2 separate regions of the Homo sapiens genome follow, and region 1 is linked to region 2. The links are contacts of gene promoters, found by promoter capture Hi-C in human tissues and cell types (Jung and others, 2019). All regions are on one chromosome and are shown on one strand. The core of a region is centred on a gene start or on the middle of the fragment in contact, and the rest is flanking DNA. Distances in the headings are between cores, read along the strand shown. Region 1 overlaps PDE8B (phosphodiesterase 8B). Region 2 holds the start of ZBED3 (zinc finger BED-type containing 3).

The links. Contacts are between HindIII fragments. The study calls those that stand out against the background at their distance.
Region 1: a fragment that was not itself captured here is called in contact with the fragment with the promoter of ZBED3 in region 2 in 1 of the 25 tissues and cell types used here (hippocampus).

What each region holds. Positions count from the first base shown.
Region 1 is chr5:77,238,141-77,243,758 of GRCh38, forward strand. The region is part of intron 1 of PDE8B (phosphodiesterase 8B); the gene reads left to right. Among named protein-coding and RNA genes, the nearest start is that of PDE8B, 30 kb to the left of the region's middle. The HindIII fragment of the contact is 3,733 bases long and covers 777-4,509 here.
Region 2 is chr5:77,083,487-77,088,534 of GRCh38, forward strand. It overlaps ZBED3 (zinc finger BED-type containing 3), which reads right to left and starts at 3,799. Exons shown (of 3, transcript NM_032367.4): 1 at 3,625-3,799. It overlaps ZBED3-AS1 (ZBED3 antisense RNA 1), which reads left to right and starts at 3,229. Exons shown (of 3, transcript NR_182763.1): 1 at 3,229-4,133. It also overlaps a transcript of PDE8B not described here. RefSeq lists enhancers at 3,457-4,058, 4,059-4,661, 4,662-5,048 and a silencer at 3,471-3,640. The HindIII fragment of the contact is 7,057 bases long and covers 1-5,048 here.

The DNA of each region.
Region 1 (5,618 bases), core at 1,393-3,892, 150 kb after region 2:
GTTGGAAATATTCCAACCATTATTTCTTCAAATATTTCTTTGTCTTCTCTTTCTGAAATTCCATGACATGATTTTAAGACCTTTTGTTATTGTTCAGGTTCCTAAGACTCTGTTTTTTTAGTTCAGTCTTTTCTCTTTTGTTCAGATTGGATAATTTGTATTGAATCATGTGCAAAGTTCACTGATTCTTTTCTTCAATCATTCTAACATTGAGCCTATCCAGTTGGTTTTTTATTTTGGTTATTCTATCCTTTAGTCATCAGATTTTCATTTGATTCTTTTTTATATCTTCTATTCTTTGCTGAGACTTTAAATCTTTCCAGTTGGTTCAAGTGTTAACTCTTGCTTATTGGAATTTTTTATAATAATTGCTTAGTCTTTGTCAGATAATTCCAGCATCTTTGTCATTTTTGTGTTGACATCTATATTACTGAGGGCTCTTCATAGAAACAGAACCAATAGGATACACATAGATATACAGAAAGTGGTTTATTACAAGGAATTGGCTCATGTAGTTATGGAGGCAGAGAATTCTCATGATCTGACATCTGCAACCTGGAGGCCTGAGAAATCTGGCAGTGCAGTTCTAGTTCAAATCTGAAGGTCTGAGAACCAGCAGAGTCAATGTGTAAATTCTAGTACGAGTCCAAAGGCCAGAGAACCAGGAGCACTGATGGCCAAGGGCAAGAGAAGATGAATGTGCCAGCTCAAGAAGAGAGAATGAATTTGCCCTTCTTCTGCCCTTTTGTTCTTTTCAGGCCTTCAACAGATTGTATGATGTCCACCCACTTGGTGAAGGTGAATGTCTTTACTCAGTCTACTAATTCAAATGCTAATCTTTCCCAGAAACATCCTTACAGATACACTCAGATATGTTTTAAAAGCTATCTAGGCATCCCTTAGCCCAGTCAAATTGACACATAAAATTAATCATCACAACATCTGTCAATTATCTTGTCCCATGCAAGTTGTAATTTTCCTGGTTCTTATGTCCAGGAATTTTAGATTGATTATAAGACTTTGTATCTTGATTAAATCTTATGGTGAATCTTGATATTTCCGTTTTAGCAGGGAATCAACCCTGTTGGGTTCAGACCACAATTTCTAGTCAGCCTTCTTTTGTGGTTATATCAATTACATTTTTAAAGCCTTTTCAATGCTCTTTGAATATGTCCCATGTGTATGCCACCCAGTGGCCAGTCTGTGACCTGAAAAGTGATCTGTCTCATAATTTAGTTCTCTGTAATGTGCTTTTTAGTGTTAGATCCATATATATGCAGCTTGGAGGTGATGCTAGCAGTACATAAACAACCTATGGCTTCGATTTTCCAAGCACTTCCTTGTTTGCAATCTCTTGGTATTTTCAAGTTCCCTGGGGCTACTGATATCTGGCCACCTTTCTTTTCTCTAATTCTTTGTACAATAAACAACACCAATCTTTTCTCTCCTTTACTGGATAATTTTAGTGTGGAAAATAACATCTAACCTTTCTGAAATCGAAATCCACACTTTTGATGAACATGATCCAATTCCAATCTCTTATGCTTATGTAACTTTAAAACTTTCCACACATCTTTCTAACAAACATGGGCTCCTCTAGCTTTAGCTGTATTGTAAGATCTTAGATGAGGTTAAACACCTTCCTGTTCAGAGCTTTCATTCTTGTAATAACCCAGGCTTGTCTCTCCAGAATGCTCTTCTACTTGGGTGGCTTTTAAAGCATGTTTGTTTATAGCTGCTCCTGGTCCATTATCCCCTGGGAACACAATGTTTTATAGGGGGTCCTTGAGCAGAAAAACACAGCAGCAACCCTAACCCTTCGACGTCAGTCTCTCCAAGTGCATCTAAGTTTAAGTGTTTTGCTTCCTTCATCAGTACTTTTTCTGTGATCCTTCCTTTTCAACAAGCTCTCCAGTAACAGCACAAGACAAAAGTTAAAATGAAGCTTTTTTTTTTTGTATTTCGTTTTAGTCATTCAATTGAGAGTTTTTTGAAAGGGCAATTTAAATTTGTTTTGTTTTGTTTTGTTTTGAGATGGAGTCTCGCTCTATTGCCCAGGCTGGAGTGCGGTGGCGCGATCCCGGCTCACTGCAAGCTCCGCCTCCCGGGTTCACGCCATTCTCCTGCCTCAGCCTTCCGAGTAGCTGGGACTACAGACGCCCGCCACCGCGCCCGGCTACTTTTTTGTATTTTTAGTAGAGACGGGGTTTCACCGTGTTAGCCAGGATGGTCTTGATCTCCTGACCTCGTGATCCGCCCGCCTCGGCCTCCCAAAGTGCTGGGATTACAGGCGTGAGCCACCGCGCCCGGCCAAGGGCAATTTAAATTTTAATTAAAACTCCGAGGTCACAGGAGGTCTCGTAGACAGGATTCTACTCATGTAGAAAGAAAGTAGAAACCATAAGATAACCTAGTGTACATCTGCCTTGTCACCAGTCAGATAATCCTATGCCAACATCTTCTCCATCACTAGGGCTAGCTATTAATATCTTTTCAGTAAAATATGCTATTTAAAGTGTTATACCCACACTAATTATTCAAACACATTCAAATTGAAATTAACTAAGCTGACAATTATTCAGTACCCATTTTATGCAATAAGTGTTGTGAAAGGAAATAAAGAAAGAAAAATACATAACTCTTACCTCCAAGAAGCTTTCTGATTTGCATTTCCATAAAATAAAATTATTTTGTCTTTCAAATACAGGTTTCCAAATACAGAGGGATAAAATGTTGAATTAACCTTTTGAATAATACGTAGTTGCAACTAAGCAGCGTTTTCCTAAATAAGCATGTTTACAAAACTTCCTAGGAAGTGACCAGATTGCTATTCATTTTAGTAACACATAGTGAATTTTTTTAGTGCAAAAATGAGGGATAAAGGAGAAAAAGTGAGACAGTTGCAAACAGGAGTTGCAATCAACAAGGGAGACAGCAGCCAAATGAAAAGAGTTCTTTTTCTAGAGCACTCACTAGTATAGCATTTTTGGAAGAGTGGCTTTTGAATAAAACATCCGGAAAACTGGTTGATACACTTACTGTCAGTTCAGCACGCACACCTCATTGCTTTTCTTCGGCAAGTATTGGGAGTAACTCATCATTATAGTCAAATATGTATTCAAATGCTTTGACTACTGGAGATATCATAGTTCAAAGTGTATTGCTCTTGAATCTGAAGAAAGAACCTTAATTGATGTTTAATGTGAACTCAGATATTGAGAGAAGAATGATAAGACGTCACATATTTCAACAGATTTAAAGTAATTTGAGGAGGTAAACAGGCATAATCATTTTACTTATGGCACAAAAACAATCATAGTAAGAATAGTTACTAATATTTATTGAGCACCACATGAAGAGCATGATGTGCATTACCTCACTGAATCATGCAGCAATCCTGTCCTATAAGCACTATGATCCTTATCTCCATTTTACCAACATGAAGGATTAGAGGTTAGAGAGGTTCAGTAGCTTGACCAAGGTCACACTGTTACTAAGTGATGAGGCCAAGTCTGGGTGCCAAGGCCAGTTCCCAGCCACCATTCCTCCCTCTCTCATGAGATCATGTGTTCTTCAAGCAAAGTTCACGTTGGCCATCAGATTATTTCTCTGGGAAAATATTAAAGCTGCATTGATTTGCTAAAGAAACCACAAGTGTCTGGCTAACTTGCATTTCAAATTTTGCTTTAAAGTTTTAAAGTTATCATTTTAAGAACAGCTGCTGTAGCTGCTATAATGCCTCTGGAAAAGATAGCAGAAAAAATCCACTGCCTTGCCCACCACTACTACAAACAACAGCAAAACTTTCTCATGGTTCAAATCCTTCCTTAACTTGTCCCAACACCAAATTCACGCAAGGTGTATGCCGATGAGCCTCCTGTAAAATATCCAGAGCTTCTAATTTGGGGTAAGATGAATTAAGCACTCCATTCTCTCTCTCCAACTTAATGCAATTATAAAACCTGGCGAGAATGCATGGAGCAATTATTTAAGAACCTTGAAAAGTAAATAGTAACAGGTAGATTGGGAGGGCAGCCAGAAATGGAAGAACTACCAAACTGGTGGTGTGTTTACAATTTTCCCCTCACTGGTATCCCTCAGCCTGTATCCAGTGCTCTCCAAGAGACCTCCCTGAGTCCTTAGTTCTGGCAGAAGGCACAGGAAAAGAAAGGTGGCCAAATATCAGTAGCAAACGTGCTTAAAGAGAAGTTAACAGTTATTAGCTCAACATATTTCATCTACATCAGCATGTTTTAAAGTATGTTTCAAAGGACAATAGTTGTGCAGAATGTTAGGCTCAAATGAACAAAAAAGCAAAATAGTGGAGATCCAGTGCTGTTTGGGATTAGGCTCTTTGTAAACCACTAAAAGAAGCTAGATATATTTCTAATTTGGTAAAATAATAGGTATGATTTGGAGATCCAGTTTATTATGGCTAAAATTTATTAGTGAGACTTTAAGACATCAGCTCCTTCTGTTAGAAGTTTTATATCAAAATGTCAGTCAAATTTCTTTTTCTTTTTTTAATTTATTTATGTATTTATTTTTTGAGGCGGAGTCTCCCTCTGTCGCCCAGGCTGGAGTGCAGTGGCACAGTCTTGGCTCACTGAAAGCTCCATCTCCCGGGTTCACGCCATTCTCCTGCCTCAGCCTGTAGCTGCGACTACAGGCACCCACGACCTCGCCTGGCTAATTTTTTGTATTTTTAGTAGAGACAGGGTTTCACCATATTAGCCAGGATGGTCTTGATCTCCTGACCTTGTGATCCGCCTGTCTCGGCCTCCCTAAGAGCTGGGATTACAGGTGTGAGCCACTGCGCCCGGCCAAATTTCTTTTTCTTATTAGATTTAACATTCTAAGAAATACCAAAGATAAAAAGTATAATACCAATCAATTATACTTTTTAATATCAACTATACCATGTTTATTCTATTTTTTAAAAGTGGTCTCTTTTAATCAAGGCTTTGCAATGATGTTGATGGGAAAAGTTTATGGTGAATTTTATAAATATAATTCAGTAGCTTGAGCCTAACTTTTTTGGAGTGCAAGAGGAGTGTCTAAGAAGATATCTTCTATGGTATGTCCATAGATAAAAATGTAATACCTTTAGACAGAGCCAACTATACTACCAGAAAATATAATCTGTATGTTAAGTAAGCCATTTAGGAGTTAGCATTGCATTTTTTTGTTTTGAAAAAACACCCCAGCTTTATTGGAGTATGCTTTATATACCATAAACTTTATCAAATTAAAGTGTATAGTTTCATGAATTTTAATAAATCTATATAGTTATGGCAACATCACTACAATCTAGTTTTAGAACATTTCATTACCCCTAAAAGATCCCTAGCACCTGTTTACAGTTGAGCCTGCTCCCACTCCCAGACCCAGACAACCACAGATCCTCTTTCTGTTGGTTTTAACTTTTCTGGAAATTTTATATAAATGGAATCATACAATATGTAGTCTTTTTTGCCTGAGTTCTTTCAGTTAACATGCTTTCAAGGCTCATTCATGTTGTAGCATGTGTGAGTAGTTGGTTCCATTTTATTGCTAAGTGGTGTTCTACTATATGGATAGGACACATTTTGTTTGTTCATTCATCAGTTGGTGGACAT
Region 2 (5,048 bases), core at 2,549-5,048:
TTCCCATCTGTCAAGAGAAATAATAAGATTATTTGCCTCTAAACAGGTGGCTGAGATCATAGATAGTGCAAATGATGTCACTGTTGGACTCTCCGGTGTTATATAAATTTAAGACATGAACAATAAAGAAACTACCGATATTTACTGCTCAGACATGCCCACGTTAAGATTTTAATGGCTAAAAGGCAGTTGTTTTTCCATCTGACATTATGTTATTCAACAGAGTAAGTAGTCTAAGTTGGAGGAATCCCCTTGGGAATTGACTACAAAGAGCAAATAAAAAAGAGTAACAGATCCAAGACCCTTACCCCTTAAATTTATTTTCACTTCCTAAATTGAACTTCATGCAAAATAGGTTATTTATCACTAGGGTAAAATAAGATAATGGGGAGGTTTAATTAGCCAAAGCCCTGTGATAACGCGTTTCTTCCTTACCAAATACCCAATGAGAATGCATATCATTAATTCTGTGGTTAGCTAATAAGAAAATGAAAAAAGCTCCCTTAATTTTTCCTTGAAAAAATTTTTAAACTAACACAAAGATGCCAATGAATGAGTATTTTGCTTACATCCATTCACTCCATCCAACTCTCATTCAAATGCTCATTGTGCACCTGCTAAGGTCAGGTGCGTGCTTTCTGCCAAGCATTCCAAGAGGAACGTCACATAGTCTTTGCCCTCAGGAAGCGTACGGTCTGGTTGGGAAAGAGATGCTTCCAACAATAATTCTGATACCTGTGTGATATGGTTTGGCTGTGTCCCCACCCAAATCTCATCCTGAATCCTACTCCCATAATTCCCACGTGTTGTGGGATGGAACTGGTGAGAGATAATTGAATCACGAGCGCGGTTTCTCCCATACTGTTCTTGTGCTAGTGAATAAATCTCACGAGATCTGATGGTTTTATAAACGAGAAGCCCTTTTCGCTTGACCCTCATTATAGCTCATGCCGCAGCCAGGTAAGAAGTGCCTTTCGCCTTCCGCCTTCCGCCATGACTGTTAGGCCTCCCTAGCCACGTGGAACTTTAAGTCCATTAAACGTCTTTCTTTTATAAATTGCCCAGTCTTGGGTATGTCTTTATCAGCAGCGCGAAAACAGATTACTAACACACTGTGGTAAAGGTGAAATCAGTGCTCACTCCTTCGGGTGAATTCCGTCACATAATCTCCACTGGGGAAGGGGTGGGCATGGGCAGCTCCTGGGAGCTGATGTCTTAGGGGCCCTAACACAAAAGTTCATGCAGTTCAGCATCCCTTCCCCTCCCATGCCCCACAGGGCACAAACGCATTGTTGTCCATCACCAAAACACATTACCCTTAGTACTCGACTCTAATGAAGTTCCAGTTCCTCAGTTGTATAACGAGGCTTCCAAGCTCCTATTTTAAAAGAAAGTTTCTTGAAGCTAAATAAAAGCACTGCTAACATGAAATTAACAGTGGAAATTTTTGAGTGTAATTTCAGGGTGAAAAAAACTGAAAAGACAAATGTAGATTTTAGATATTTCAAGGAAGGAGAGAGAGTAGTGTTGCTGGTACCATGCCTCTGCACTTGCTATAGCTGAGTTTCATTTGAGTATCCATTATTTGGAAGGAGTTCTTAAATCTAAGCCTGTGGAAGACAATAAATTCACATTAATTATCTCTCCATTTGACTCAATTTCTGAAGAAGTTCTATCCTTCTGATGAACTATCAGATTAAATCCCAGATTCCTCAGTATGATGTCCCTGAATACCAATATAAAGAATAAAGGAAGAGATCAAAACCTGGATGAATAATCTGTATAAACATGGGCATATACACAAGGTATGACTATAATATTGAGACTCATCCTATAAAGCACCTACAAAAGTTGATTGTATTATTTTATACTTATGCTTGTGCACATAAAAAATATTTGGCAGGCTAAAGGCCAAAGAACCAGGCACTGTTCTCAAAAGGACATAGCAGATTAACTACACCTCTATTTGTCCTTCTATACTCAAGGCTACTTACTGTAGTTGGGTTGACCAGGCAGAGTTTAAATCAATATATGTTGGTTGAGCCTGGATCTTAGATGAGAAATTCACACTAACGTGAAATTCACACAGACATATGTGGAAACACTAAAAACATTTTCTTTTACTTCATCCACCAGTGACTTTAATGAAAGCAGAGCATAATAATTAATACAAGTAATTAGAGTTGACAACTGAAGTGTCAAGAAAACCACAGTTCATCTGTTATCCGTCCATCTCTGTTGAAATATTAGTTTACTGCCATATATTAATCTATTTATAAAGAGATCCAGACAATTAGAAAAATTAGTCTGGAATCACCAGGCTGAAGGCTTAGCTGAAGTTAAAAGACAAGTAAAAATGCCTCCAAACTGTAAAACCTGAGTTGGGGAATAAATGGTAAAATGTGTAAAAATTTAGAAAAAGGTTATATGTGGACTGTAAAAAATACACTGGACTCACAGGTAATTAAGGGGTGAATCAGAGTTGTTTCCTAAATGGCATAAGCCAAACTCTTAGATATTTCTACCATTAGCTAAAAGGCAGAGAAGCACTCTCTCTCTCTATTAATGCACTTTTAAAAATGAAAATTGTGAAGTGTTCTGCCCTTAAAGTGGACCTTTATTTCAGGTCTGCATTACTTTGCTTAATAGATATGGTCCTAAAGATTAAGGTGGTGATCCATTTTATCTTGTAAAAATGCATAATTTAATCTGAGTTATAGGAATTTAAAGCTGCCCTACTTTGAAGGCCTTTGTGACTCAAAGATTTTTTTAATTTAATTTTTAAATTGAGAATTACCTGGCTTGGGCTTTTGGTCTTTTTATAATACGTATTGCTGTCTACTTTTTTTTTTATTCTTGGCTGCCTCAAGCTATTCTTGCCTCCAAAAGGTGTCAGCATATGAATAAAAACAGCAGAAAATAATTACCCTAATTAGGTCAATGTATTAAGCTGTTTCTACAACTGTTTCTCTTAAACACCTTATCTTTGTAGTCTTGGCTCATTAGAAATTCGACTAGTGGTAAGTATTTATTTTTTTCCTTCAAGGGGGTTTTTGCTTTGCTAAGCCTCGGGCATTTGGTTCGTGCAAGAAATCACAGAAACTGCTCCAGCGGACTCCGAAAGGAGCGGAAAATTCTTTTGTTTGGGGGCCATGAGGGGTGGGGGAGGGGTGGGGATTCTGGTGTAAGCTTTTGGCTTGCATTCGCTTTCTCCCTCCGAAAGTGGGCGACATCAAGCAAGTCCCAGTTACAGAAAGAACCCACTGCAGGGCGTCCAGTCACTTGCCCAGTGAAAAGACTGTAATCAGACAACTTTAATAAAGGGAGAGCAGGAGAGTGGTGACGAATTTCCACATTCCGAACAAGCTTGTCGAAAGAGGAGTGCAGGGAAGGAGCAAGAATGAGGCACTGGAAGACGGTGAGCGGGGCCTTGCCACAGAATCCCGGGCCCACCTGCTTTCTCACAGTCGCGACAGCCGGCCCGGAGAAGGGCAGCCCAGCGAAGGGCACGCCCCGCGCGGGTGCCAGGGAGGCCGGCAGGGGCGTCCGCGGTCGCTGCTCACCTGCGCTCCCCGCTGCCCGGCCCAGCCCGCCTCGCCACCGAGTCTGGAAGCCCACACTCACCCCTTTACCCGGGAAACGCGGCCGGAGCCGGCGGCGGGTCGGGAGTCCGAGATGGTAGATCCCCCTCCAGGCGCCTCGCTGACATTTTGTCCCGGACGGAAAACCTCCGCGCGTGCCCCTTAAAGACACAGCGCTGCATTCACACGTCTGCGGGGAAAGGGGGGCCGTCACGTGTGGCCTTCGCCCGAAAGCGGTAGGGGAGTCGCTCTGAAACCGCCAAGGATCGCGAGCGACAGATTTGTGTTGGCCAGGGTTTTAAGATGACGCAATAGCTGAGTGTGGTTGAAATGTAACTATTGTTTTACAACTTTGCATTAACCTTCCAAGACCTGAATTCCCGGGCCTGAGTCTCAGAGCGCGGTTTGCATCTTTGCAGGCTGTAGGCGCATGATGTCACAAGTTATTGGAAGAAATCCCTCCAACCTAGGTTGGGACAGATGAAGGCGGCGCTTATTGGTGTTCACCAAAACACCAGCATGGTGTACCAGCTTTGGCTAGATGATGCTCAGGTAACGAACAACCCCTGCAACTCAGTGGCTTAAAGGTCCATTTCTCAAGCGAATTACTGTGGCTGCAGGGAGCTTTGGCAGTACTCCACCAGTTTTCTTCACTCCAGGCTGAAAGGTCAACTTTTCTGGGCCATGCTCCCTGCTGGGCTGGTAAACCAACTTTGAGGGAGAAGGGGGAAGTCCAGATATGTAGTGTTTGCTATTTCTATGATGTAAATGCTCCCACAATGGCCGATTTCAAGCTACAAACAGTCCAACAAGTGGCTTGCCAAGTTCCTGGAAATTTAACAATTAGCTCCTGTACATGACTGGCACAAGCTGCTTTCCAAACTCACATTCCGCATGCCTCAGTTCTGCTCACTTTCTATTGGTCAAAACTTGCTGTCAGTGGGTGGGGAAGTGTACCCCTCTCTTAAGGAAGCCTTGCAAGTCTTGTGACAATGAAACAGGAGAGTTCCCTGATTTCCTCCCGGCCCCCGCCCTCCCACAGCCCTTTGCAGGACGTGCAACAGGGTTGTGGCTCGTGTGTTCGGTCTCTGCCTGCTGAAACCCCTTATGGGAGGTGGAGCATGCAGACGGACGGGTGCAGGAGCCAGGGTGCAAAAGCTGGGGCGCTGGGCTTCCAGCCCCACGGCAGTGTCCAGGGGCAGGATCCCGTGATTCCCGGAGCCCAAATGGGCGTGTGTTACAGTGTGCTCTTTTAGCCTTACCATCAGCTGACGGCTTAAGTGTTAACCAGCTCAATAGACCCTCTGCCTTTTTGCAAGCGCAGAGGGTCAGTGTGACAGTTTCTGTATCTCAGCTCTTGTCTCACCTCCCAGAAGAATCAGGTCACACATGGACTTGAAGGATGGTGAGTGCCGGGGTGGGGGCGGGGGTAGAGGAGTTGGGGGAAGGTTGGGGGTGTTTATTAGG